Linked DNA regions of Homo sapiens: all the other regions are linked to region 1. The links are contacts of gene promoters, found by promoter capture Hi-C in blood cells and fetal thymus (Javierre and others, 2016). All regions are on one chromosome and are shown on one strand. Each heading gives the region's core, a stretch centred on a gene start or on the middle of the fragment in contact. The rest is flanking DNA. Distances are from core to core; before and after follow the strand shown.

Region 1 (3,736 bases), core at 514-3,013:
CTAGATAAAGTTACATATAGTGTTAGGTTTTATGTATTAATTTTTGAAAACAGGGTCTTGCTCTGTCTCCCAGGCTGGAGTGCAATGGTGAGATCATTGCCCATTGCAGCCTGTAACTCCTGGGTTTAAGGGATCCTCCTACCTCGGACTCCCAAAGTGCTGGGATTACAGGTGGCCTAGACTTTATAAAGCTGTTATCACCTCTTTCTTCTTTTCTCAACACTATCCTTTTGACATCTATCTAACCCTGTTGAAACAGATGACCGTCATTCCTTTTAAATGTTATACAGTATTAAATGTTGTGCACATGCGTGAGGCATGAGTTTAACTCTGGGGCCTCTCCCTAGAAATGGAAATCCGGGGTCACAAGCAATGGGCATTCCCGTTTTACTGTTAGATTCTGCTCTCCCGCCAGCAGCGTCTGAGAGGTGCTTGGGGTTCCCCTGAGGGTTCTGGGGGAGCTCGGACTTGCGTTCCCAGCAGGCCGGTTGTCGCCTGCTTTGTGCCTAATTTGCGTCACTGGGGTTCCTAGCGGACTCGCCTGCAAGTGTGCTCAGGACTGCAGGGAGGACTCTTCGGTCACTGCGGCTCTCTCCCCATGGTGGACTCTTCTGAGGCGCTTGACTGCGCTGATTTGGGCCTTTATCTGTCTGCATGTCGGCAGGGGCGCCCAGGAAGTCGGGTCCCTCTAGCTCAAGCTTGTTTGGGCTCTTACAGCTTCAGGCCAACAGGGGGCTGGGAAGCTGAGCACTTACTCATTCCGTCCCCGTTGGTAACTAGGGCTGGTAGACGCGTCCAGACTGCAAACAGTATTTCATCATTTTGTCTGTAGCATGCAGCGGCCAAAGCTGCCAACCTATGAAACGCTTTGAGAAGCCGGACGCTTTGGGAGGCCGAGGCGGGTGGATCCCCTGAGGCCAGCCTGGGAGACATAGTTAGATTCTGTCTCTCAAAAAAATTTTTAAAAAATTACCCCTGATGTGGTGCGCGCCTGTAGTCCCAGCTACTCGGGAGGCTGAGGCGGGAGGATCGCCCGAGCCTGAGAGTTCGAGACCAGCCTGGGCAACGTAGCGAGACTCCGTCTCTTAAAAAAAATAAGTAGCCGTTTTTCTGGGTGGGTGCATCCCTCTCTGGTTCCTCGCTCTCCAACTGGCCCTGGTCCTGGGGGCGTGAAGGCTACGATCTGGAGAGACAGAACAGCGGGCTGCCTCTGGAGGACGGGCCTAGACCCCATTCATTCATTCATTCGTTCTGTCACCCACCCGTCCTGCGCGCACGCGAGCCACCCTAAGCCCCAGGACCTCAAGAACCCCCACCCCACGGGGCACAGACAAGGACAGGCTGGCCAGCGCCTGGAAGCCGCGTGCCTGACCACGTCTGCCCGAGCGAGTACCGCCTCCCACCCGGGAGGCAGGAGAGCCGCGACCGTCGGGCCGCGCCCAACGTCTCCCGCTCAGGGGCGCGCCGCCTCGCTTTCAGCGCATGCGCGCCCGGGAGCCCGCCCGGGGCGTCGGCGCACGCGGTCCCCACCGGCCGGCTTGCGTACGCGCTCCCGGCTCGCCCTCCCACGCGGTCCACCGCGCCTCCCGCCCCACCCTAAGCGCAGCGACCGCCCGAGCGGCCGACCGAACCGCGTTGCGTGCGTGCGCGCACGCGCGGGCCACGTGGGCGGGCGCCGCGCCGTTGCCCCGCCCCTTGCAACCCCGCCCCGCGCCGGCCCCGCCCCTGCTCTCGCGCCGGCGTCGGCTGCGTCTCCGGCGTTTGAATTGCGCTTCCGCCATCTTTCCAGCCTCAGTCGGACGGGCGCGGAGACGCTTCTGGAAGGTATCGCGACCCGGCGGGCCCGGCACGGCCGGGCGGGGACAGGGGTGGCGGCGGCGGGATAGGGGTCGGAGCCGGGGCCAGGGCCGGGGCGGGTGGCGGACCCAGGGGCAGCGGGCGGCTGAGTAGGTGGGTGGTGCGGGCCCGGCCGGGCCGGGGCAGGAGACGGGCGTGGGGTCGGCGCTAGCCCCCGCGAACCCCCGTTTCATCCTCCGCTCTCATCCCCGTCCCGGTCCCAGTCCCGTTCCCATCCCTACACCTCCGGCCGCCGTTCCCCGGGCCCCGCCGCCCCGGATGCCGGCCCCGCCCGCCGCCTTCCCGCTCCCAGGCCTGGCCGCCATGGCGCCGCGGGCGGGAGGCCTTTGTGGGGCGGGCACGTGGGGCGCTGGGGGCGCGGGAGCGGGGCCGCCATGGGCTGCGGGGCCGCGCGAGCGCTCGCCTCCGTCCTCTGCCTCCGCAGGAACGCCGCGATGGCTGCGCAGGGAGAGCCCCAGGTCCAGTTCAAAGTAGGTAACCCTGCGGGGCGGGAGGCGGCCGAGCCCGACCGCGTGCGACTCGCGGGTCCCTCCTCCTGGGGCCACGATGGCTGTAATGGGGCCCCGCATCCACATTCTTTGTTTTAAGTGAGCCTGTGGTGGTTAAAGTTCCGTGACTCTGGGATCTTGAGAGGTGAAGTGTTTAGGGTTTACTTCCAAAATGTGTTTTTCAACAGCTTGTATTGGTTGGTGATGGTGGTACTGGAAAAACGACCTTCGTGAAACGTCATTTGACTGGTGAATTTGAGAAGAAGTATGTAGGTATGTGCTGGAAAACCTTGCTTGTGGAAATATGTGAGAAATGGGTAAGTTCATCCACTCAATCGCATCGTTTCCGTTTCAGCCACCTTGGGTGTTGAGGTTCATCCCCTAGTGTTCCACACCAACAGAGGACCTATTAAGTTCAATGTATGGGACACAGCCGGCCAGGAGAAATTCGGTGGACTGAGAGATGGCTATTATATCCAAGGTAGGCATTTGTAACTTGCTGAACGGTTTTTGAGAGGTTTTGTGTACTTCAGTCTTCAAGGTTATAGAAAATCAGGTCTGTTCCAACAAATAGTGTCATTTTTGGGTTAAAAAAAGACAAGTGGACTTCGGGGAGTTGACCACCATTTTGGTGGCAGAGAAAATTTTATTAAAGTTGTGTCATTTGCATGCTGTGTCATGCTAGGCATGCTTTAGAAAAAACTATGACTTACACTGGGACTTATAAGTCATATTTAAAACAATAATAGGCTGTTAACAGCAGTTTCAGTATTTGGAAACTTAGGTTCATGTATGTATTTTGGTGTGGTGATCAATGAATGTTTTTACTGTATTAGAAAACAATAAACACCAGATACTAGACCAGAGGAGATAGGAGATCTTAACAAGTGTTATACAAGACTAGCTGATTTCTTGTTAAATTGTTTGTACTAAGTTGTGCAGAGTATTTTTCTCAAATAGTTTGATTTAAAAATTGCAAGGAAAATGTTCATTGTACCAAAAAGAGGAATCAAGAAAATACTCATCTCTCTTGGAACCTCACGTTGCCGATAACACATTATCTGGAATCATTCCATGCCTTTTGCTTTCCTTGAGCATGTACAAATAAACACAAGAATTTCCCCCAAAAGAATCCTTTAACCAAAAAGTTGTGGTTTCTTGCCTTGCTAACTGTACCATAGTTATTCCTGCAGGTGAATATATAGGCTTTATCTGGGTTATTTATTTATTTAATTTTTTTTTGAGACAGGGTTTCGCTCTGTTGCCCAACCTGGAGTGCAGCTTCCGCCTCCTAAGCTCAAGCCATCCTCTTACCTCAGCATCCTGAGTAGCTTGGACTATAGGCACGTGCCACTATGCCTGACTAATTTTTGTATTTTTTTGTAGAGATG
Region 2 (3,736 bases), core at 697-3,196, 960 kb after region 1:
ACCCAGCTTTGCCTGCCATCCACCCTCCCTTCCTCTGACTTCAGCACCTCTGATTTCCTGTAGAGAATCCCTTCCAGCCCAGGGCTTCAGCTCACTTCCCTGCCCCTGGCCCCACGATCAGGTCCTGACCCAGAATCCAGAGAGAGGTGGCCTTGGGACCATTGGTTGAGAAAGAGTCTGTCTCTGGCTGGGCCTGCTGAGGGGGAAGGATGCACAGGAGCTGCCCTGGGCCGTCTTTGCCCCACACAGAGATGGACTGAGAGAAACCGCGTTCTGACGCTGTTGCTGTGAGACTTGGTCCAGCCCTGCCTGACTTTGGCACACGCTAGGACGCCACCGTTTCCTGAGCCCATACCCATACGCTTCCTTTCCTTGACTACAGCCGCTTTGGCTGGGTCTCTGCTCTGGAAACCAGGTTGTCCTGATGCACTTGGTCAAAATCCCGGATGAGGCCAGGTGCGGTGGCTCACGCCTGTAATCCCAGCACTTTGGGAGGCCAAGGCGGGCTGATCACCTGAAGTCAGGAGTTCAAGACCAGCCTGGCCAACATGGTGAAACCCCGTCTCTACTAAAAATACAAAAATTAGCTGGGCACGGTTGTGCACGCTTGAAATCCCATCTACTCAGGAGGCTGAGACAGGAGAATCATTTGAATTTAGGAAGCAGAAATTACAGTGAGCCAAGATCGTGCCACTGCACTCCAGCCTGGGCAACAGAGCAAAAAAAAAAAAAAGAAAGAAAGAAAAAACAATCCGGGATGTCCTGTGAAAGTCCCCACCTCCTACAGGTGATCCCATCAGTCCGAACCAAGGTCATCTGAAGCAGGTGTGGAATCACCCTGTTCAGACCGGGCCAGGGAGGCTCTGAGGGCAGCAGGGACAGGATGGGCCAGAGTACCCAGGGAAGCGGGGGGGGGGGGGGGGGGGTGGTTGGGGGGAGTCGGCCCTCACAGGAGGGGAGGGGCACCACTTCCCTGAGACCAGTTCTGGTAAAAGGGGCCGAGCCTCAGTTTCCCTGTCCGTAGAATGAGACCTCAGTCCTGACAGTACCAGCTGCGATTTGGGGTGGTGGAGCAGGAGGGCCTGGGAAGGAGGGGAAGCCATGCTGTCCAGCACGAGGAGAAGCTGAATAAAGGCAAGGGTTACCCTTGAACCTCACCCCCTGCCCTCTCCCAAGATCTCCCACTCGGTGGGCAGCCTGTACGCAACTTGCACGAGTTCAATCCACACAAGCGCCTGCTCGGGCTCTGACCCTGGCTCTGCCGCTTGCCCGCTCCAGGACCTCCCATAAGTTACTTCATTTCTTTGGGCCTCAGTTTCTTTGTCTGCGAAATGGAAATCATAGTTTTCATCTCATAAATGTTGTAAGTAAATGAAATTATTTATGTAACTCCTGGGCATGTGCCAGGCACACGCTGCGCTCCAACAAACATTACAAGTTAACATTCTCGCTCCCAGGCCCGCAGGGACCGCAGAGCCTCCGCCGAGGACCCCAGCCCCCCCAACACCCGCCCTCGCCCTCCAGTCCCCCGCGCCCCCCAAGCCCCACCCTCCCTCTCCCGCGGTCCGCGGGCTCCACCAAGCGCCCACCTGCTGCGCTGCGGCGGCGGCTCCGGGGCCTGAACCCGGGTCTGAACCCGGGCCTCGGCGCCGTGGGGGGTGGACCCGGGAGCGCGGCCGGAGAGGGGAGTCAGGGTCAGCTCCCCGCAGGCGCCCCGACCCCCGCCTCCGCGCCCATCCCGCGCGTCCCCGCCGCCCCAAGAGCGTCCTAAGACACCCGGGGAAACGCCTTCCCTGTGATGCCGCGGACCCAGTCCCGTCGCGGACACGGCGGGGCGGGCGGGGGTGGCAGCGTCCGAGGCGGCGCGGGCCCTTTAAGGCGGCCGGCCTCGTTAGCATACATTTGCATGGCCCCGCCCCGCCGCTTGAGGCTGCCGCGCGGGGCTCAGTCCGGCGGGGGCGCCGCGGAGAGCGGAGGGCGCCGGGCTGCGGAACGCGAAGCGGAGGGCGCGGGACCCTGCACGCCGCCCGCGGGCCCATGTGAGCGCCATGCGGCGCCGCGCAGCCCGGGGACCCGGCCCGCCGCCCCCAGGGCCCGGACTCTCGCGGCTGCCGCTGCCGCTGCTGCTGCTGCTGGCGCTGGGGACCCGCGGGGGCTGCGCCGCGCCCGCACCCGCGCCGCGCGCCGAGGACCTCAGCCTGGGAGTGGTGAGCGCGCGGGCGGGACGGGCGCGGAGCTCCTGGGCCGGAGCCGGGGGTCTCCGCGGGCCGGGTGGCGGGGACCGGGAAGACCCCAGCAGTGCACGTCGGCGTCGCGCGGGAGCCCTGGCGCCCTGGACCCATTTCCTGGGTGGGGAGACTGAGGCAGGGACGCGGGCTGAGCGACCGGGCGAGCGCACGCGAGTCCTGGGGAGGCGCCGGCTGCCGTCCCGGCTCCGTGCGCTGGGAGCGCGCCGCAGCCGCAGGAGCCCGTGGAGTTGTGAGGGGGTCGCCCACCCGGAGCCCGGGTCGCCGGCTTGCAGCAGCCCCGGAGCAGCCGGGCTGGGCGAGAGCAGGCATCGCGGCCGCCCCGAGCTCTGCGCGCTGCGTGCGTTCCGGGTGGGAGTGGCGGGGGCAGGAGCACGCACCCACAAAGCGAGGAAGGGCAGGGGCTACGGAGTGGGGGCACCCCGAAAGCCTTGAGCCCCCGAGTTTGCTCGGTTGAGGGTGTTGGGGGCACAGGGATGCTGGCCCCCAGCTCCCCACTGGACAAGGACCTGGCCCTCAGCCTCCTTCCCCTCCACCCCAGGTCGGCCAGGCTGGCCCTGCCTTGCCCTGGTACAGTGCTGAGCCGGGGGCGCGGGGAGAGCCTTCCTCACTCCACACCCAGTAGCTGTCCCCAGCTCAGCTTAGAAACCCTGCCTGGGGGCAGCGACGTGGCCTCTTCCTACAGCCCCCTCCCCTGTTCCGCAGCCGGGACTCGCGTCTCCTGTGGACCCGGAAGATTTAGAGCACACGTCGTGGGGTCAGCGCCCCCCCGCTGGGGCGGCCGGGTGAACTCCCGCTGGGTTCGTTGGTTCCTTCTGAGGCTCCTGCCCCACCGCTGCCTTCAATGGACTCCTACCCAGGGAGTCGGGCCAGGAGCCGAGGCCTCCCCGCCCCACACAAGTACTCGGCCTGGCCCTCGTCCGCGGACAGTCTCCCAGTGGGGTCCTGGCAGGGCCCCTCGCCCAGCGCAGTGGACATTCAGGAGCTCCAAAACCTTGGGGTCCAAGCAAGTCAGCGCAGGTGTATTTCAGGCAGTCGAGGCATATGGAGGGGCCACTTGGGTGGCACCCGCAGCCCCTGTGGTTGGCAGGACTTGGCCAGGGGGTCTGGATGGGAAGCCGATTTGGCCACCGTTTGCCCCAGGCCCCGAAGCCATCTGGGAGGGTGCTGGCCACTGTCCCTGCTGCCCGCGTCCAGGTGCCTGCAGGTCCCCACAGTGGCTTCCTTCCAGCCAGGCAGCCTGTGAACTTGGGGTGCCCCCCTCCACCTCCTCAAGACCCTTTTGTAGGTGCGGATCTCCCGGATCCCCCACTGAGAATCACGCCCTGGGGGCCTGGGGTCTCCAGCTGTGGAGGGAGGTGAACCCAGGCCCGCCTTCCAGGTCCGAGGGTGCCGCAGAAGGGGCCGGGGCAATGCCAGGGAAGGACTCAAGGTGGGGCCCACACACTCAGGAGGATGGACCCCCGGCCGAGCCATGTTGGCTGATCAGA
Region 3 (3,736 bases), core at 473-2,972, 910 kb after region 1:
CCAAGAAGCAAAATCCTACTCATTTGTTTGTAACTTTCAGTTAAAAGAAAAAATTAAGGTAAAAGTTACCTGAGTGTGGTTTCCACCGTGATGGTAGGCTACCAATTTTAATCCGACCTACGTTTAAAACACTTTACAGCGTCAGCAGAGCAAAGTGTTTCCAGAACACTCCAATTTTTAATTAGTCTCCATGGCCAAGGAGGTAGTATCTACATACTTCTAGTTAATTTTAGTTAAATAAGGGATTTAAAAGCATTTGATTTTGCAACTGAGACAAAATATGAAGGCAAAGTGCAAGCTTATTATAAAATGAAAATAATATTATAAAACAAAACCTTCCAGGTGTTGGATTGTCTAGCAAGTTCTACCGTGGGTGCTGGCCCCTGGCATTGGTTCCCCTCCACAGGGCCAAGGGCATAGCTGGGTGCAGAGACCGGCAGTGCCGTGGTCTCTGGAGTCTGAGGACATAAGTTAAACAAGCTAGTCAAGCCCCAGATGCTTGGGAGGCAGAGGCAGGAGGATTCCTTGAGCCCAGGAGATCGAATCTAGCCTGATCAACATATTCTCTATGACAAAAGAACAAGAAGAAGAAGAAGCTGGTGGTTTCTCACCATAACCTTTTCTTGTGGAATTCTGCCTCAGCTCTTCTGGGAACAGTGAGTGCGTGTTTTATTTAGTAGGATTGCATTTTTCTAAACTGGCTGCAAACCTGCCTCCTCCATCCAAGCTCTGCCAGCAATAATCATTTCCAGGGATCCAAGTGGCTTTAAAATGCAAGTTAGAAATGGGAGGGGTGGTGATCTCCTCAGTAATATGAATTATTGGAGTATAAAAGATAACTAAATTTTAACCAAAATATTGAAAGTGTTAATGCTGTTGTTATCAGATAGAATAAACTGTTACAAACGCAGCCTCCACTCAGAATGGATCGGACTTGTCACTTGGGCCTGAACAGACCTAATTGATCATTTTTCATGACTGCTGCCAGCCCACAGTAGAATACCGCAGTTGTTAATATTTCTAATTGGGTAGGATGCTACATGGAATGTATTTTGTTTTATATATTAAATTACTAAAATTCTATATAAAATACAGAAAGTTAAGATTAGAAAGCCTTCTTACAGCACAACGAATATTTATTTAATGGCTATACTGTTCCTGTGGTTGAAGTCCCATGTATTTAGTATGTCTAAGTTATGGGCGACTCTGGATCTCCAAAGGCAAATTAGTCATGGAAGAATCTTTAGTTTTGGAAAATCACTATGTTGCTTCTCAAAAAGTATACTAGTTACGACAAGGTAGTATTTAGTGTCTTTTACATCAACATTGAGGCTGGCACGGTGGCTCACGCCTATAATCCCGGCTCTTAAGGAGGCTGATGCAGGTGGATCACCTGAGGTCAGGAGTTTAAGGCCAGCCTGGCCAACATGGTAAAACCCCATCTCTACTAAAAATACAAAAATCAGCCAGGCGTGTTGGTGTGCGCCTATAATCCCAGCTACTCGGGAGGCTGAGGCAGGAGAATTGCTTGAACCCGGGAGGTGGAGATTGCAGTGAGCCAAGATCGTGTCACTGCTCTCCAGCCTGGGCAATAGAGCAAGACTCCGTCTAAAAAAAAAAAAAAAAAAAGATTAAAGTAAAATACTTTTATTGTCTGTTTTCATTTGTATTTTGATATTGTATCTGGTTCTCTATGTTAATGGAATGAAGAAGTACTCATGTAGTTCATTTACAACCTGAAATTAAATTTTAATAAGTATCAGCTTGAAACTAAGTTTATTTTTAAAACTTTTGCTAAGATAGTCTCTTGTGTTCATTTAGTTATCTAAATGCATCTTCAGAGTTAGCCTGGGCTTCTGGGAGTTCTAGATAGATCTTTGAATGTTGTCATTTTAAGATATCTTCCAGTATAGAGAGCTATATGATAAAAATATATTTCTGGCCGGGCGTGGTGGCCCACGCCTATAATCCCAGCACTTTGGGAGGCTGAGGCAGACGGATCATGAGGTTGAGACCATCCTGGCTAACACGGTGAAACCCCGTCTCTACTAAAAATACAAAAAATTAGCCGGGCGTGGTGGTGCCTATAGTCCCAGCTGCTCAGGAAGCTGAGGCAGGAGAATGGCGTGAACCCGGGAGGCGGTGCTTGCAGTGAGCCAAGATCGCGCCACTGCACTCCATCCTGGGCAACAGAGTGAGACTCCGTCTCAAAAAAAAACATTTTATATATATATATATATATATATATATATAATTCTTTGTAGAAATTAGCTCCCTAAATACTTGGGGTTGGTGAAGGAGACTGGGGATTTGGAAGACTTTTCTTAGGAGTCTTGTTTAGCATTCAGAAGGGACTCAGGCCACACTGGGTTTCTATTTTAGGTTGAAAGTTGTGGCTCCTCACTGCCCTTTTTACCCACAATAAATTGCATAGCAAATCCGTAAAAGCGATGACTCATCTCCTAATCCTGCCCCTTAAAGGGGGAAACCAGATGCTTGCAGTTCCCCAAGTGGTAGTGTTGATCATGCCAAGGTGAGGACCGTCGTTCCATCCCTTGCAAAGTGAATCAAAGTGAATTGTAGCCAAACACAGATAAGACCAGAGGGTGTCTGCACTGAGCAGTCCAGGAAGGAGGGGAGCTGCAGTGGCTGTCACCGGGCTGGGACACGAGGAGGAATTGCAGGTGAAATCAGATCCAGTTTCAACTTGAGGAAAATTCAGCCCCGGGAGCTGCTGGTAGAGCCCAGACCTTGATGCTGAGTCATCTGCACAGAGAATTCCGTGACAGAAAGGCCGTGGGTAGAGACGTGAATGGAGGAAGTGGAGTAGATGAAATGGTTAAATGTTGGAGAAAAGAGGCTATTTATGAATATGACCACTGTCATTCAGATAAAATTTCTGGACTGTTATCATTGAAAAAAGTCTCATTATGTTTCTATTTGAAAGCAAACCATTATGCTTTTTTGAGGAAAAAAAAAAACTGTGAGTCACGTTATGCTTGCAAGTGTTTAATTCAGACCATTTCATCTTTAAGAAGGCCCCTGGTCACATTATACGGATGATTTGCTTATTAAATGGAACTCCTGTTTCTTGCACCATGTTGTGGGGTCAATATGAGAAGCCTAATTAACAGAATAAAAAGCATTAAAGCTTCTTTAGCTAAAGTCAAACTTAGAGAATTGTCTAATGGTATGTAGCCCCTCGTTCTAAGATGGGCGTTTTCCCCAGATAACTTGAAAATCTACTGGTAACAGCCACTTCCCTTTAAAGAATTCTATTACTAATAGCCATGACAAAATGGTATTGTATTTCAAAGTTAAGAATTTGCAGGCCTTAAAAACTAACTTATTTTTCCTGATTATTGAGTTTATTGTAGAATTCTACGTGTAAGCATTCCCCAGCCGCTATAGCTTTGAATAAGCAGAGCTTTTTTCAGAGTTCTGGTAGCGCCCAGCCCAGCACCTTTTATTCTGAATGTGAAGTGTGTGCCTCCGTGTCACAGAGTCACAGCCTCCCCAGGGACGCTGCGCGCGGAGCCCTGTCAGAGCAGCGCGTCAGTGACAGCGGCAGCCGAGCCAGGAAGTTATCAGGCAGCCTCGACCACCACCAGATTTGACTCCGCGAGCTCTTTTGAGGGAAAACCTGGTAAAACGTCAAGGTGTCTAACTGACCTCGCCTTTATCATCTGTTCTGTAAATCTTAGGAAAGGTCTGGGAAAAAATCAAAACGATTCTG
Region 4 (3,736 bases), core at 573-3,072, 890 kb after region 1:
ACTCACTGAAGCTGTAGGACATGCTTTCCATGTGCTGTGACGTGATCTGCAAGGAAGATTCTAGGCAGAAGCAACAATTTTGTGATTGAAAAATTCCACATAAAGAAGCAATTCCTGATTCCCTGTACTGACCTGAGGTACCTGGAGAAACTTAGTTAATCTTTTCAGCCTCGGTTTTCCCATCTGTAAAATGGGAAGCCTCTCAGTGTCCATCCTGTGGAGCTGTAAAGGCTGAGTAAGGGAGGCCTGTGGGCTGTGTGCCATAGGCCACTCTTAGAGTGAGTAGCTGTGGTTTTGGCTTTGTGTTTGGTTTGCATAGATACTAGCTTTAAAATGTCTACTTGACAGGCCGGACAAGGTGGATCACCTGAGGTCAGGAGTTCGAGACCAGCCTGGCCAACATGGTGAAACCCATCTCTACTAAAAATACAAAAAATTAGCTGGGCATGGTGGCGAGCACCTGTAATCCCAGCTACTCAAGAGGCTGAGGCAGGAGAATCGCTTGAACCTGGGAGGCAGAAGTTGCAGTGAGCTGAGATCGCGCCTTTGCACTTCAGCCTGGGCGACAGAGCGAGACTCCGTCTCCAAAAAAAAAACAAAAAAAAAGTCTACTTGAGGCTGGGCACGGTGGCTCATGCTTGTCATCCCAGCACTTCAGGAGGCTCAGGCAGGAGGATTGCTTGAGGCCAGGAAGTCAAGGCTGCAATAAGCTATGATTGCACCACTGCACTGCAGCCTGGGCAACACAGTGAAACCCTTTCTCAAAAAAAATAAAATAAAATGTAAAATGAAATAAGCATTGCTAGAAGGTGTTCTGGAAGCTTTCATCTTAATACTCTTATTTGTTGATTGCGTATTTTTCTAATTTGGGGAGATGGTTTGGAAATAATTGTTATTAAATCATTTTGTGATATATTTTAGTCCAGCCCCTTGTTTGTTTTGTTTTGTTTTTTGTTTTTTTTGAGATAGAATCTCACTCTGTCACCCAGGCTGGAGTAGTGCAGTGGCGTGATCTCAGCCCACTGTAACCTCTGCCTCTGCCTCCCGGGTTCAAGTGATTCCCCTGTCTCAGCCTCCCAAGTAGCTGCGATTACAGGCGCCCGCCACCACACCCAGCTAATTTGTGTATTTTTAGTAGAGACAGGGTTTCACCGTGTTGGCCCTGCTGGTCTTGAACTCCTGATCTTGTGATCTACCTGCCTTGGCCTCCCAAAGTGCTGGGATTACAGGCGTAAGCCACTGCACCCGGCCAATTTTTTTTTTCTTATGGAAAATCTCAAACATGTACGAAAACAGAATATCACATAATGACCACTCACGCCCCACACACGTGCTCATCATCTGGCTTCAGCTGCCGGCCCTGCTGCTTTTTATTTTGATGTTATAAAATACTGCTGTCCCGGTATCAGTATCTTTGTGTGTGCCCTGTCCCCTGAGGCAGTTGTTGATGAAAAGTGGTTATATTTCAGAGGGTCTGGGCTATCACATGCTTAACTGTCTACTTCACATCACACGCGGGTTTGGAGCCATAAAATGCTAAAGCGGAAGGACCTCCGCCAGGGGCCAGCCAGGTAGCCCACCCTGTGCTACAGAGGTGGCATCACAAACATAAGTTGCAGCCCTTCCAGAAGCGGCCTTGTTTACCCAGAACCCACTTCCCTCTCAGTCACCTGGTTTGCGGTGCACTTAGCATCCCCTTCATTGTGGGTGCCTTGAATATTCTTCATAAATAACAACTGATGGTTTTTTAAAATACTGTATCTTATTGCAACCAGTTAGCTCTTGTCAAGAGCCATTTATCACAGCATCTGAAAGAGAAAGGGACTCTGTGTTCATTGAGTGGTGGGGCGGGAAAGATGATTTTTTCTTTAGGGCCTCCATATTTCCCTTAAATTTAAGCCTTCTGGATATTCTAAGAGGAGGGATTGCTTCTAAACTTCTGTCACGCTGGGTTTGACATTTTCTTACAGGTGTGGAAAATGGTCTAACATAATGCCTGTCACAAAGTAGGTAAAAATGTTTGCTGAATAAAGGCATGGATTCTGTAATTTTTGCTTTGTAAGAAAAGGCTATTTTTTATCATGGGGAATTTTTTAAAGAGACCTGTTTATAGTGGAGTCACATCATATGCCTCCTGAAGCAAATTTAGATATATGCTGAGCCATGAATTTTTTTTTTTTTTTTTAAAGAAAAATGAGGCCGGGCACAGTGGCTCACGTCTATAATCCCAGCACTTTGGGAGGCCGAGGCAGGCGGATCACGAGGTCAGGAGATCAAGACCATCCTGGCTAACATGGTGAAACCCCATCTCTACTAAAAATAGAAAAATTTAGCCAGGCATGGCAGCGGGCGCCTGTACTCCCAGCTACTCAGGAGGCTGAGGCAGGAGAATCGCTTGAACCTAGGAGGCAGAGGTTGCAGTGAGCCGAGATCGTGCCACTGCACTCCAGCCTGGGCGACAGAGCGAGACTCCATCTCAAAAAGAAAAGAAAAGAAAAATGACAAGAATTGGCCATTTAAAATTGCAGGTGACTGCCCTGGCATCAGCGAGTGTGCCCTTGCCATGAAGTCCCCAGTCAGTGCGGTTCTCACAGCATGGTTCAGGGGCTCACCCCAGCCCCACGCCATGCAGTGCACATCTGCACAGGTCTGCTCTGACGGCACGGCGTCCCCCACCGTAGACCCTGCATATGATGTGGCTCCATGCTAGTCATCCCCTTCCCAGCAGCCGATGCTCAGGTGGGTAGCAGGGCCTGCAAAGATTTCCACTCTGTAACATGTATCATAATTCTCACCTTTCCTCAATAGCTTCCTTTGCTCCAATAAGCTTTGCAATCAAGGCCAAAGAAAATGATCTGCTTCCCCTGGAAAAAAATCGTGTTAAGCTAGATGATGACAGTGATGATGATGAAGAAAGCAAAGAAGGCCAAGAAAGTTCTAGTAGTGCTGCAAACACTAACCCAGCAGTTGCCCCACCCTGTGTAGTTGTTGAGGAGAAGAAGCCTCAACTTACCCAGGAGGAGCTAGAAGCAAAGCAAGGTTTGTTGATAGCTTTTAAACTTCTTGAAAGAAAGGAAATACACAAATATAAGATTTATCTGCTAAGCCAAAAAATCTCGAGGCTGCCAACTAGAATCTGAAGCCTTTGGAAATCGACCTATTTGGGAGTTGTGTAACATGTCTGAGGTTTTGAAACGTTCTCTTTTAGAGGAATGAGCTCTGCTCTTCACTGAGCCTCAAATGCAGTGCCGCTGGCAGTTTGTTTTCGAAGAAACTGAGTTGGCCGTCTTAGCTCTAATGCGCCACAGTGGAATGCATTAATGGCAGCTCACTTTGCACTTGGCTGGCAGCCCCAGGGTAAAAGGCTCAGCCTGTCTTCCCAGCTCAGGAACCAAACTAGGAGATGCCCTCTTGTGAGGCTGCCTACCCACAGAACCATTGGGCCCTTGAAGGTGGTGTGTCCCCAGCTGGTTTTCCGGCTGCGGCTCATCTTCATGGGCCGCAGTGTGGCCACCACACCCACCCCAACACTGCTGGCAGCATGGGGACAGCATGTAGTCTTCCCATCCCGACTCCAGAATAAATTCTGCTCTGCATTAAAGCAGTCAAATAATGGTTGCTGCATTGTGGTTGTTATCTATTCTAACTGATTTTCTTAAATTGCTTTTCCTGTATACACACATTCAGATCAAGCAACATTTGAAAGAGGCCAATTTTCAGGCCAGGCGCGGTAGCT
Region 5 (3,736 bases), core at 589-3,088, 870 kb after region 1:
GAGAAAAGGAAACACCAAGCTAACAGGAAGGGGTGTTCTAAGACACAAAGAGCTATTTGGAAAACATCACATAAGAGCCTCACTTTCACCCAGTATCAGAATCACTTCCAGATGTAAATGCCAGTTGTGGAAATTCTTAGGAAAGTAAGGATGCTTCAGCAGAATGAAGAATCATCTATTTTCAGCCAGCAGTTATATTCAATTAATTTTTTAAAAAATGAGGGGAAAAAAAAAGCCTGTATGTCTAAACAGCTTTTACAATCAAATAGGAAAAAATTCTGATAGTCTAGTAGAAAAAAGATCTGCAGTGCGAATAATTCAGAGGCAAAAATGCCCATACGGTTTTTAAAGACTCACCCTCACTGCCTGCTCACAGGCATCGTGTCCGCCGACCGTAGAACCTGAAATCCGTAGTAAACACCCCTCCAGCGCTTTGGTTCAGCTCAGCTCCAGCGAATGTTAGGATGTGAGGCTTCGTGTTACAGTAGAAAGGAGCGCACTCATAGGCATACAGAACACTGTGCAGGTCTAAGACTTAGGAGAAGACGGAGATTTCTAGGCTGTTGGAATGTTATTTTGTATATGCGAGTTTGGGTAGCTTAATAATAGAGATTAAATAAAAGAAATGCAGACAAAACCTACAATGGAGTGCCATTTTTCAGCTGTCACTCAAGCAGAGAAAAGGTGACAGACGTTTATTGTCGGTGGGGGTGTAGATTTGTGCCAGCGATGTGGTACTTGTGGAGGGCCAGCGGGCAGTCTATCAGTCTAAAACACACGTGCCTCCAACCCAGGATGTCTGCTCTCATTTACTAGTATATGGGTGAACATAGCCACATAGATACTCATCATAGTACAGTTTTAGTAGTAGCAAAAGACTGAGGCGACGCACATCCTCGGTGGAGGACTAATGGAGTCCCTCTGGTGTGCTCTCGCGGTGGGCTGCAGAGCTCTGGGGGTGGGCCAGGGCCCGAGCGCTGCAGGGCCACCCACCGGAATGGCTCTTCCTGAGGGTGGAGGCGAGGTGACTCAAGGGGAGGGCAGCACGAGGCAGTCTGTTCACGTCAGAAGGGGAGGGAAGTGTCTGTAGTGCTTCTGTATCGGCACCTAAAAGGGCAGGTAAGAAGGACCAGTGGCCAGCACAGAGAGGGGAACTGGAAGGACGAGGTCGCAGACAGGAGTGGCTGACTCACCTGCCCGTTTGCGCTGCTTGCATTTTTTCAGCGTGACTCGTCACCCTCTCAAAACATGCAGATTGACGTGGTACTTATTTTGAGACTAAACTGGTATCCTGAGTTAATTCCTTACAACTCTGTATTTTAATAATACGTGCTTTTATCATTTTGTTTCATCAGCTCAGTGTGTTTTTGTTTAGGCGGAAGTGGCCCCCGTAACATCTTTCCCCCGTAGAGACTTGCATACCCAGTACTGCTGTGTCTCGTGGGAGGCTGCTGGGTCACTAAGCTTTTCTGGCTTTCATACGCTGGGTATTTAATAATCACCTTAGGATATACTCAGTCGTTCTTTCTTATTTACTTCCTACTGATGGAGATTTTCCTACATTTTGGCAGCCTGGGAAGAAAAGCATCTATTTTTTTCCTTAAAGTCCAGCAGAATTTTATATATATATAAAATATGTGTATAAAATAATTTTTCTAGAAGCTCATTAAATATAGATGTGTAAAACTAACAATTTATTTCATTTATTAATTTTCCTGACAATGAACTACTTTTCATGCTCTTTATTTTTCATTACTTGTCTTCTGCTATTTAGCTATAAATCCTTATAGAAGAGTATAAATAAATAAAAGTAATTATGCAGGAGGCAGTCATAGTGAAATGCTGCCCACTGTGATAGCCTGTGGGTTTTTTTTAATAAAATGCCAACTCAGTTTTTCTTAATATTCTATAAATATCTGAAGTGAAATTAAACCATTGCGCATGGCTACTATAGATATTTTCTTGCTTCTATCCCTGTTTTTTAAATGTGCCTTTGCTGTTTATGGTATATTTTTCCTGCACATCATGACTTTGAAGTTCTTTACTTACTTTCCAAACCCATTTTTAAAAATGGTTTTATTGTATGTCAAGAGAAGAAGGAAGAAAGCAAAAATGTTACCCAGGATTCCACCATCCAGAAATAGCCATTAGTGAACATCATTAGCAAAGTGGAAAACACTGAGGTCATCGTGCTAAATAAAAAGGAAAGAAAGAAGCTTGTTATCTGTGGAACACAAAGATCATCTTTATGCACGAATATCAATTAAAATGTTGGATGTGTCTCTAGAAATACTTACGTTAAAGTGGAAATAAACTTAATTTTACTTAAACAGAAGAGCCTGCAATCTAAAAATGAAGTAACTGTCGAACTTCGGATGAAAGTTTCTTTTATGCCTAAAGAATTCAGTTCTGAAAAAAGGTTAGGAGAACATTGAGAGGTTGTCATTGTAGATATTTTTTAAAGCTGTGTATTTTTCCTGATTTTTGTTAGAATTATTCAACTTTTTCTTTGCATTTAATATATCTCGAACATCTTTGTATTAACAGTGCATGTGTATCTCTCTCTTCTAGCTGTAGCAACTACCTAGTATCCTGTTGTATAGATTTATTGTGAAACAGCCCTCCATTAATTGATAATTTGATTATTTGTGACTTCCAATTATTTCTACTTTTCCAGTGCTGTAATGAACATTATTCTTTTTTTTTTTTTTTTTTTTTTTTGAGACAGGGTCTCTCGCTCTGTCACCTAGGCTGGAGTCCAGTAGCGTGATCTTGGCTCACTGCAACCTCAAGCTATCCTCCCACCTCAGCCTCCTGACCAGCTGGGACCACAGGCATGTGCCACCACACCTGGCTGACTTTTTAGATAAATTTTTAGAGGGTCTTGCTATGTTGCCCAGGCTGATGTTAAACTCCTGGGCTCAAGTGATCCACCCACCTTGGCCTCCCAAAGTGCTGGGATTACAGGCATGAGCCACTGTGCCCTGCCAATTATTTATTACTTTTAAGCACTAATGTGGTATAATTCTATATGCAAGATAAAAATCTTAGAAAATAAACAGCTAGGTCAAAGAGTATGTGCATTTGTTTAAAGTATTACCAGTGACTGAGCAGTTGCCTTCTGAAACATTGTGTCAATATGCATTGCCACCGCTAGGATATGAGTGCTTCTTAGTTTTGTAACCATTTAAAATGATTTGAATATGCTGATATAGAAATATATTTAAGAGTGAGTAGGACAGTCAATATACTATATTTATGACTTTGGTTCCTTTAAAGTATAGAAATATTATTTTTATATTATGAGAGTTTATAAATAGTATTTGCATTCTATTATTCCCCAGTTGCTTTTTTTTTTTTTTTTTTTTTTTTTTTTGGATGGAGTCTTGCTCTGTCTCCCAGGCTGGAGTGCAGTGGCGCAATCTCGGCTCACTGCAAGCTCTGCCTCCTGGGTTCACGCCATTCTTCTGCCTCAGCCTCCCGAGCAGCTGGGAGTACAGGCGCCCGCCACCATGCCCGATTAATTTTTTGTATTTTTAGTAGACAGGGTTTCACTGTACTAGCCAGGATGGTCTCAATCTCCTGACCTCGTGATTCACCTGCCTTGGCCTCCCAAAGTGCTGGGATTACAGGCATGAGCCACTGCGCCCAGCCCCCAGTTGCTTACTTTTAGTTTTATGGTTGACTGGATTCGTTTTTTCCCTACAGCTTCTCCTTTTGAGTTATTTATTCGATT
Region 6 (3,736 bases), core at 783-3,282, 830 kb after region 1:
ATGAGAGAGAAATAAAGTCTTTTGCAGGCAAGCAAAAACTGAGGAAATTCATTACCACTAGAACAGCTTTATAAGAAATGATTGAGGGAGTCCTACATCTGGAAGAGAAAAGATAATCGTCACTATCGTGAAAACATGCAAAAGTATAAAACTCACTGGTAGACCAGGTACACAAACAAGAAAGACGAAATAATAAAAACTTGGTTGGGCAGGGTGATTCATGCCTGTAGTACCAGCACTCTGGGAGGCCGAGGAAGGCAAATTGCTTGAGCCCAGTAGTTTGAGAGCAGCCTGGACAACATGGTGAAATCCCATCTCTACAAAAACAAAATTAGCCAGGTGTGGCAGTGCATGCCTGTGGCCCCAACTACCCAGGAGGCTGAGACAGGAGATTTGCTTGAGCCTGAGAAGTTGAGGCTGCAGTGAGCCATGGGCATGCCACTGTACTCAGCCTGGGCAACACAGTGAGACCCTGTCTCAAAAAAAAAGAAAAGAAAAGAATAAAAACCTGTTACTACAGAAATACACCAAACCAAAATAACAAACAATAAGCAAAGAAGAAAGGCACAAAGGATATATAAAACAACCAGAAAACAGTCAATGAAATGACAGGAATAAGTCCTTGCATATTAATAATAACCTTGAATTAAAACAGGTTAAATTCTCCCACTAAAAAGATATAGACTGGCTGAAAGGATTTTTTTTAATGACAAAACTATATGCTACCAACGAGAAATTCACTACACCCATTAAAGACACATATAGACTGAAAGTGAAGGGATAGAAAAAGATATTCCATGCAAACAAAAACCAAAAGCAAGCAGGATTAGCTGTATTTATATCAGATAAAACAGACTCTGTAAAGCAAAAATTGTAAAAAGAGAAAAGGTCATTATGTTATAATAAAAGGATCAATTCAGCAAGAGGATATAATAAATATACATGCACCCAACACCAAAGCACTCAGATACATAAATAGCAAGTATTATTAGATCTAAAGGGAGAGATGGACTCCAATACAATAACAGCTGGGGACTTCAACACCCCACTCGTGGCACTGGAGAAGTCATTTAGACAGAAAACAACAAGGAAACATTAGGTTTAAACTGTTCTTTATATCAAATGGACCTAACAGACATTTATAGAATCTTTCATCTAATAGCTGAAGATTACATTTTCTTTTCATCAGTACATGGAACATTCTCCAGCATAAAATTCTCCATCAACAAGTGAATGGATAAAGAACATGCAGTGTATATACACATAATGGAATACTATTTAGCCACAAAAAAGGAATAAAGTTCTGGGCTGGGCACGGTGGCTCATGCCTGTAATCCCAGCACTTTGGGAGGCCGAGGCATGTGGATCACCTGAGGTCAGGAGTTCAAGACCAGCCTGACCAACATGGAGAAACCCCATGTCTACCAAAAATACAAAATTAGCCAGGCATGGTGGCTCATGCCTGTAATCTCAGCTACTAGGGAGGCTGAGGCAGGAGAATTGCTTGAACCTGGGAGGCTGAGGTTGCCAGGAGGTGGAGGTTGCCATGAGCCGACATCGCATCATTGCACTACAGCCTGGGCAACAAGAGTGAAACTCCGTCTTAAAAAAAAAAAAAAGGAATAAAGTTATGTCATACCAGCAACATGGACAACCTTGGAGGTTATTAAGAGAAATAAGTCAGGCACAGAAAGATAAATACTGTATGTTCTCACTCATATGTGGAGGCTTAAAAAGTTGATCTTATAAAAGTAGAGAGTAAAATAGTGGCTAGTAGTGGCTGAGAAGTGTCAGGAGAAGGGGGCATAGCCAAAGGTTGATTAAAAAATACAAAAGTAGTCGGCCAGGCACAGTGGCTCACGCCTGTAATCCCAGCACTTTGGGAGGCCGAGGCGGGCAGATCACGAGGTCAAGAGAATGAGACCATCCTGGCCAACGTGGTGAAACCCCATCTGTACTAAAAATACATAAATATACAAAAATTAGCTGGGCATGGTGGCGCACACCTGTAGTCCCAGCTACTTGGGAGGCTGAGACAGGAGAATCGCTTGAACCTGGGAGGTAGAGGTTGCAGTGAGCCGAGATGGTGCCACTGCACTCCAGCCTGATGACAGAGCAAGACTCTGTCTCAAATAAATAAATAAATAAATAAATAAATAAATAAATAAATAAATAAAAATAAATAAAAAACAAATACAAAAGTACAGCTAGTTAGGAGGAATGAGTCTAGTGTTCCATAGCACTGCAGGGTGACTATAATTAACAATTTATAGTATGTTTCAAATAGCTAAACGAGCAGATTTTGAATGTTCTCAGCACAAATAAATGATAAATGAGGCAATAGATAAGCTAATTATCTGATTTGATCACTACACATTGTATACATGCAATGGAAATATCACACTGTACCCATAAATATGTACAATTATTATGTGTCAGTTGAAAACAATTTTACAAAACACACATTTGCATGTTTATTCTTAGGTTTTTACAGTTCTTTAATCTTATTTATTCACCTATTTTTTTGAGACAAGGTCTTGATAGGGTCTTGCTTTGTCGCCCAGACTATACTGCAGTGGCACAATCACAGCTCACTGCAGCCTTGACCTTCCACACTCAAACAATCCTAAGTTTCACCTTTTGACCTACACAGACTAATTGTATTACATTTTAATGTGAAGTCTCCACCCTGAAGTGAACTTGGGACCATGTAACATGAATGTTTGCTTACCACACAACCTAGCAAGCCCCTTTCACAAATATTCATAGCTCCTCCTATAACCTATTAAATATGTATGTTTAGCCAACCTGTTTAGCATAAAACTCCTCTCCCACCCTTCTTCCTTCAAAGTGCCTACTTTCTGTCTCAGCCAGAGGGTCTGCTTCCCAGGCTGTGGGTTGCAACTCTTCTCAGAAATAAAGTTCTCCTTTCCAAATTTAAGATCTTGTGATCTTTATTTTGACATATGAGATTTCCCTAGCCGGTTTTTAGTCCATCCCTGAAAGACTGAATGGTTAGATCTTTGATATCTTTCTCAAGTACCTCCCATTTGACCTCAGCCATCCATTTTCAAGTATCACCAGTCCCAGTATCATATGAATAAATTGGGAAAGATCAAGGAATCATGGATCATATACTCCAGGAGAATTTTTTACCTCCAAGAAAATTTCTGGGGGCTTTCCTTTGAAACCTTTCACTGTTGCTCTGAACTCAAAAGATTTCTGAACAAGGCATAACAGTGATTAAAGAAGCAGACTTATTAATCTGAGGGCCTAACTATATAAGGCATTTGTTTAGCTTTCTTTTTGTCTTTGGGGTAGGAAGGTAACTGAGATAAGAAGTTAGGAGATTCTGAGTAGGCAGAGAAGGATAGAAAGATAGAATGTACAGTGAGTTCAATACATCAAAATACAATTTTTTTTCTCATAAATTAGCTGCTTAAGTTTTTCATTTGCTTTTTGTAAGAAGTCATTTAGAAAGGCAATTTTTGGTTCATTTAACCTTTTAGAAGCCTCTGCATGTCAATCAAAATACATCCTTTTGTTTCTGAGGTGTTTTTTGTCCTTTCTTAATATTTTATTTTATTCCTTTCAGACCTAGTCCTGCAAATATCCTTTCTTTTCTAATGTCTTGCAAGTGAACAATTTTATCTAGGTTAAAACTTCCTCACTTTGACCACTGTTAACTCTTAGATTACCTTTGGTAGGTTCACCCATTTCTCTGGAAAAGTGCAGA
Region 7 (3,736 bases), core at 587-3,086, 630 kb after region 1:
CATGCAATCAAAGGATATGGCATTCCAGGTAGTGGGACCAACAGGAGCAAAGGCCCAAAGTAGGACGCACACCCTTTAGGTACAAAAGTTGTTGTCATAGCAAGAGCTGACACTGGCAGAAGGCTCACTGTGTCTACAATTACTTTCCACTGCTTTAAATTAATCTCCCCATTTACTCCTCAGTGTAGCCTCAGGAGTAAAGACAGCTTAATGAACCTAGTACAATCATGATTCCCATACTGTAGAGGAGGATATGGAAGCAGGCACAGATAAGTAACTTGCCTAAGGTTATACAACTCATAAGCGGCAGTGCCAGAATTTGAACCAGGCCATCTGGCTCCATGCTGAACTTCTTTAAGATCCCTCCAAGTGATCTGAGCCCCAAGAGGAGATGCTGCATGGTTTGCAAAGAAACTAGAGTTGGACAGGACAAGAGCCAGATCATGAGAACCTGAAGACCATCGCATCTGTCAGGATCCTTTCTGTCGTGAGCAACAGCAAACCAAAACCAGGCCAGCATAAATGAGAAGAGACATTAATGGTGCACTTACCTGGAAAGTGTGGTGACTTCAGGCCTGGCTTGATCCAAGTGCCCAGGTGACATCACCAGAGTCCAGTCTCTGCTCTCCTTCTCTGTGCTACCTTTATTCTCAAAGCAGCTCTGTCCAGTAACTCCAACCTTACCATCCTCCAGTTTATGATTCAAAAATCTCAAGAAAGGTCCACCACCTTTCCTCAGCCATTCAAGCAGAAGACCAGGGTTTCCTCTGTTTGGATGCCAGAGTCCTTGCTTGAATTGCATGCTTGTTCCTGAACCCATCACTGTGGCCCAAATGGAAGCTCTGATTGATCCAGGCTAGGATGCATGACCCATTCCCTGGAGCCCAAAGCAAAGTCACATCTGGAGTCCTGGACTGGGGGAGAGGATCTGGCAGGGAATGTAGACCCAGATATGGAAGAAGAATGTGAAGACTGAATGTCCAACAAACAAATGTCACTCTTCAGGCCCATCCAGGACTTCGGCTATTGAGGAGAACTCAGCACCAAGAAGAGAGTATTTTCCAGGTTCTCTGTTAACTGAGACCATGGCTTTGAAGAGGAAGGAGGAAAGAAGGATGGCCCAAGGGAGGCAGCAGCTCCAGAAGCAGGAGAGCTGTAGACTTCCCCCAACATTCGCCCATACCCCACCCACCTTGCACCCAGGCCTGGGTGGGACAGAAACCTCCAGAGCCCAATAAGAAGGGGACTTTAAACTAGTGGCTCTCAAAGACGCTGTCCACTGGAATAATCTGGGAAGCTTTGCAATGACTGGATCCTGGCTGGCCTCATTCTCACAGATCCTGATGTAATTGGGCTGGGGCACAGTTTGGAAATCAGGGTTGTTAAATCTTCCCATGTGACTCTTATGTGCAGCCAAGACTATAATCTACAGCCTGAGTCATTCTCTACATGCACCAACAGTGTGTCTACTCCTCAAACACCACCCAGGGATATCACTCTATTTTAATTCATCTCATTTCTATCCATTTGTTAAAAAAAAAAACATAGCAGTTCACCCACTTAACTCTCTATTGTTAATTTTTCAAATCCTCCCTGGGGCTCCTTCAGAGTAACTAGGGGAGAAACCAGTGTCTGACCTGGAAGCTCCTTTTTCTTTGCTGTGCTGATTTGCTCAAGATGTTTCAGGTGACAGTGAGGCTGTGGTTGGTGTGAGGTCAGTCTTCACCTTTCTAAGTCTGGCCAGGAGAGGAAGTGACTGGGAGAGAAGATGATTAATACCCTCCCAGGCAACCCTGAGTGGGGCTTGTGGGGAGGCCCTCAGTGCATTTGGCATAACTAGTCTGAGCTGTCTCCTTCTCTTCCTTCCATCCATCTGTCCATCCACCCATCAATTTGCAAGGACCAGATTATGATGGACATTTCTCCAGAGGTCTGTGAGGGAGGGAGATGATGGGCCAGAAGCCAGATGCATCAGACTCATGCCTTCCCAGAGAAAAGATGGAGAGAGGGAGCTCCTGAACTGACTGAGCCCAACTGTGATATAACCACATTTACTTACAATTGACTAAGACTGAATGTTGTGCAGTTATTTTGGAGGTAGTATTAGCTATTACTGTAAGTTTCAGTTTTGCATGGCTCAAAATTCGAACCTATTACATGTTTGGATGAATGGAATTCTTGAAAATGTGTCTCTGATACATGATGAATCAGAAACCAGGCTGTTCTTCTTGACCGGGTTAAAGTAAGGATGGAGAGGAAAGGCCAGGATGTGAGCCAGTGAGGGTCCAGACCCACTATCATCATGCCTTGAGATCCTGGAATATGAATGTCTACAGTAAGTGCTTAGCAATGGTCTGGCATCATGGATGTACACGACAAGCTTAGTGATGGCATGGCACTGTACATGTACATGGTGGTTCCCAGTCATTACCTGGCATTGGATGGTGCTTAGTGATGGTCTAGCACTGTGAGTGTACACAGTAGGTGCTCAATAATGGCTTGGCACCAGTTACGTACATAGTAGGTGCTTGGTGAGGACCTGGCATTATGGATGTACACAGAAGATGCTCAGTGATGGTCTGATGGGTTCCTCTCCGTGCCCAGCTGCTTACTAGTTACTGGTTAGGTGTGCCCAGTCACAAGGGGGGGGGTCCCGAAACCCACCACAGATGACACACCCTTCAGATAAGAAAGGGGTTCTAGAGATACAAGACCAGCAGGGGAGGTCGCCTGAAGAGGTATCAGTGAACTGAGTGACAACCCAACCCACAGAGAAACTTAAAAATCACGCGCCCTGTCACAAGTTACCTAATCATGACCACCCGCGCTGACTGGGGGCCTACTCTATGCAGGCCCTCCTCTGAGTAGAGTTGGTCCTATGTAACCGCAGGTTCTGCATCTACAGATTCAACCAACCTCGGATACAGAATGTAGTTAGGCCTACGATGGTTGCATCTGCACTGTATGTGTACAGACTTCTTTTTCTTGCCATTATTCCCTAAACAATAAAGTATAACAACTTTTCTTTCTTTTAAGAGACAAGATCTCACTATATTGCTCAGGCTGGTCTCAAACTTCTAGTCTCAAACTTCTGGTCTCCAGTGATCTTCCCATCCCAGCTTCCTGAATAGCTGGGATTACAGGCATGAGCCACTGCATACAGCCAGTATAACAACTGTTTACACAGCATTCACATTGTCTTAGGCACTACAAGTAATCTAGAGATGATTTAAAGTAGAGATGGTCCCTGGCTTACAATGGTTCAACTTATGATTTTTTGAAGTTATGGTGGGTTTATTGGGATGTAACCCCATGGTAAATAGACAAGCACACGGACTTACGACAGTTTCACTTATAATTGTTCAACTTTACCACGGGTTTATCAGGGTATTATTAACTGCACATTTTTGACTAAATGAAATTTTCTACTTACAATGGGTTTATTAGGACATAGCCCCATCAGAAGTTGAAGAGCATCTGTATATGGGAGGATATGCATACATTATCTGCAAATACTATGCCATTTATATAAAGGACTTGAGCATCTGCAGATTTTGATGTCCACGGGGAATCCTGGAACCAATCCCCTGCAGATTCTGAGGGACAACTGTACTCTCCCACAAAATCGAGCAGCACAAGATCAGGGGCTATGTCTGTCTTGAGTCACCATAGGGGCCCCATCCCCTGAATGAGCATGGCCCAGAGCAGTTGACCAAAATAGACCTGATGAATGAGT

The links. Contacts are between HindIII fragments. The CHiCAGO score rates a contact against its expected background, and 5 or more counts as called.
Region 2: the fragment with the promoter of MMP17 here is called in contact with the fragment with the promoter of RAN in region 1 in 1 of 17 cell types (monocytes); the score reaches 5.2 in monocytes.
Region 3: a contact is called between a fragment that was not itself captured here and the fragment with the promoter of RAN in region 1, in 3 of 17 cell types (total B cells, endothelial precursors and erythroblasts). The highest score is 6.8, in total B cells.
Region 4: a fragment that was not itself captured here is called in contact with the fragment with the promoter of RAN in region 1 in 4 of 17 cell types (naive B cells, total B cells, endothelial precursors and 1 more); the score reaches 7.5 in naive B cells.
Region 5: a fragment that was not itself captured here is called in contact with the fragment with the promoter of RAN in region 1 in 3 of 17 cell types (endothelial precursors, total B cells and naive B cells); the score reaches 9.2 in endothelial precursors.
Region 6: a fragment that was not itself captured here is called in contact with the fragment with the promoter of RAN in region 1 in 4 of 17 cell types (total B cells, naive B cells, fetal thymus and 1 more); the score reaches 11.2 in total B cells.
Region 7: a fragment that was not itself captured here is called in contact with the fragment with the promoter of RAN in region 1 in 1 of 17 cell types (M0 macrophages); the score reaches 5.2 in M0 macrophages.

The regions. Positions count from the first base shown.
Region 1 is chr12:130,870,303-130,874,038 of GRCh38, forward strand. It overlaps RAN (RAN, member RAS oncogene family), which reads left to right and starts at 1,764. Exons shown (of 7, transcript NM_006325.5): 1 at 1,764-1,824; 2 at 2,282-2,327; 3 at 2,534-2,618; 4 at 2,701-2,826. The coding sequence starts at 2,292. RefSeq lists enhancers at 804-1,565, 989-1,068, 1,566-2,327, 3,556-3,625 and silencers at 1,349-1,808, 1,879-2,018, 2,069-2,278. The HindIII fragment of the contact is 6,850 bases long and covers 697-3,736 here.
Region 2 is chr12:131,826,447-131,830,182 of GRCh38, forward strand. It overlaps MMP17 (matrix metallopeptidase 17), which reads left to right and starts at 1,947. Exons shown (of 10, transcript NM_016155.7): 1 at 1,947-2,207. The coding sequence starts at 2,049. RefSeq lists a silencer at 1,812-1,941 and an enhancer at 3,674-3,736. The HindIII fragment of the contact is 25,913 bases long and covers 1-3,736 here.
Region 3 is chr12:131,781,570-131,785,305 of GRCh38, forward strand. The region is part of intron 14 of SFSWAP (splicing factor SWAP); the gene reads left to right. Among named protein-coding and RNA genes, the nearest start is that of MMP17, 45 kb to the right of the region's middle. RefSeq lists an enhancer at 3,138-3,736. The HindIII fragment of the contact is 2,853 bases long and covers 297-3,149 here.
Region 4 is chr12:131,761,648-131,765,383 of GRCh38, forward strand. It overlaps SFSWAP (splicing factor SWAP), which reads left to right. Exons shown (of 18, transcript NM_004592.4): 12 at 2,809-3,039. Among named protein-coding and RNA genes, the nearest start is that of SFSWAP, 52 kb to the left of the region's middle. The HindIII fragment of the contact is 2,006 bases long and covers 820-2,825 here.
Region 5 is chr12:131,736,189-131,739,924 of GRCh38, forward strand. The region is part of intron 7 of SFSWAP (splicing factor SWAP); the gene reads left to right. Among named protein-coding and RNA genes, the nearest start is that of SFSWAP, 27 kb to the left of the region's middle. RefSeq lists an enhancer at 347-1,546. The HindIII fragment of the contact is 752 bases long and covers 1,463-2,214 here.
Region 6 is chr12:131,704,751-131,708,486 of GRCh38, forward strand. No RefSeq gene overlaps it. Among named protein-coding and RNA genes, the nearest start is that of SFSWAP, 4.5 kb to the right of the region's middle. The HindIII fragment of the contact is 5,398 bases long and covers 1-3,736 here.
Region 7 is chr12:131,497,983-131,501,718 of GRCh38, forward strand. The region is part of intron 1 of LOC101929974 (a long non-coding RNA gene); the gene reads right to left. Among named protein-coding and RNA genes, the nearest start is that of LINC02414, 150 kb to the right of the region's middle. RefSeq lists an enhancer at 1,613-1,662. The HindIII fragment of the contact is 1,083 bases long and covers 1,296-2,378 here.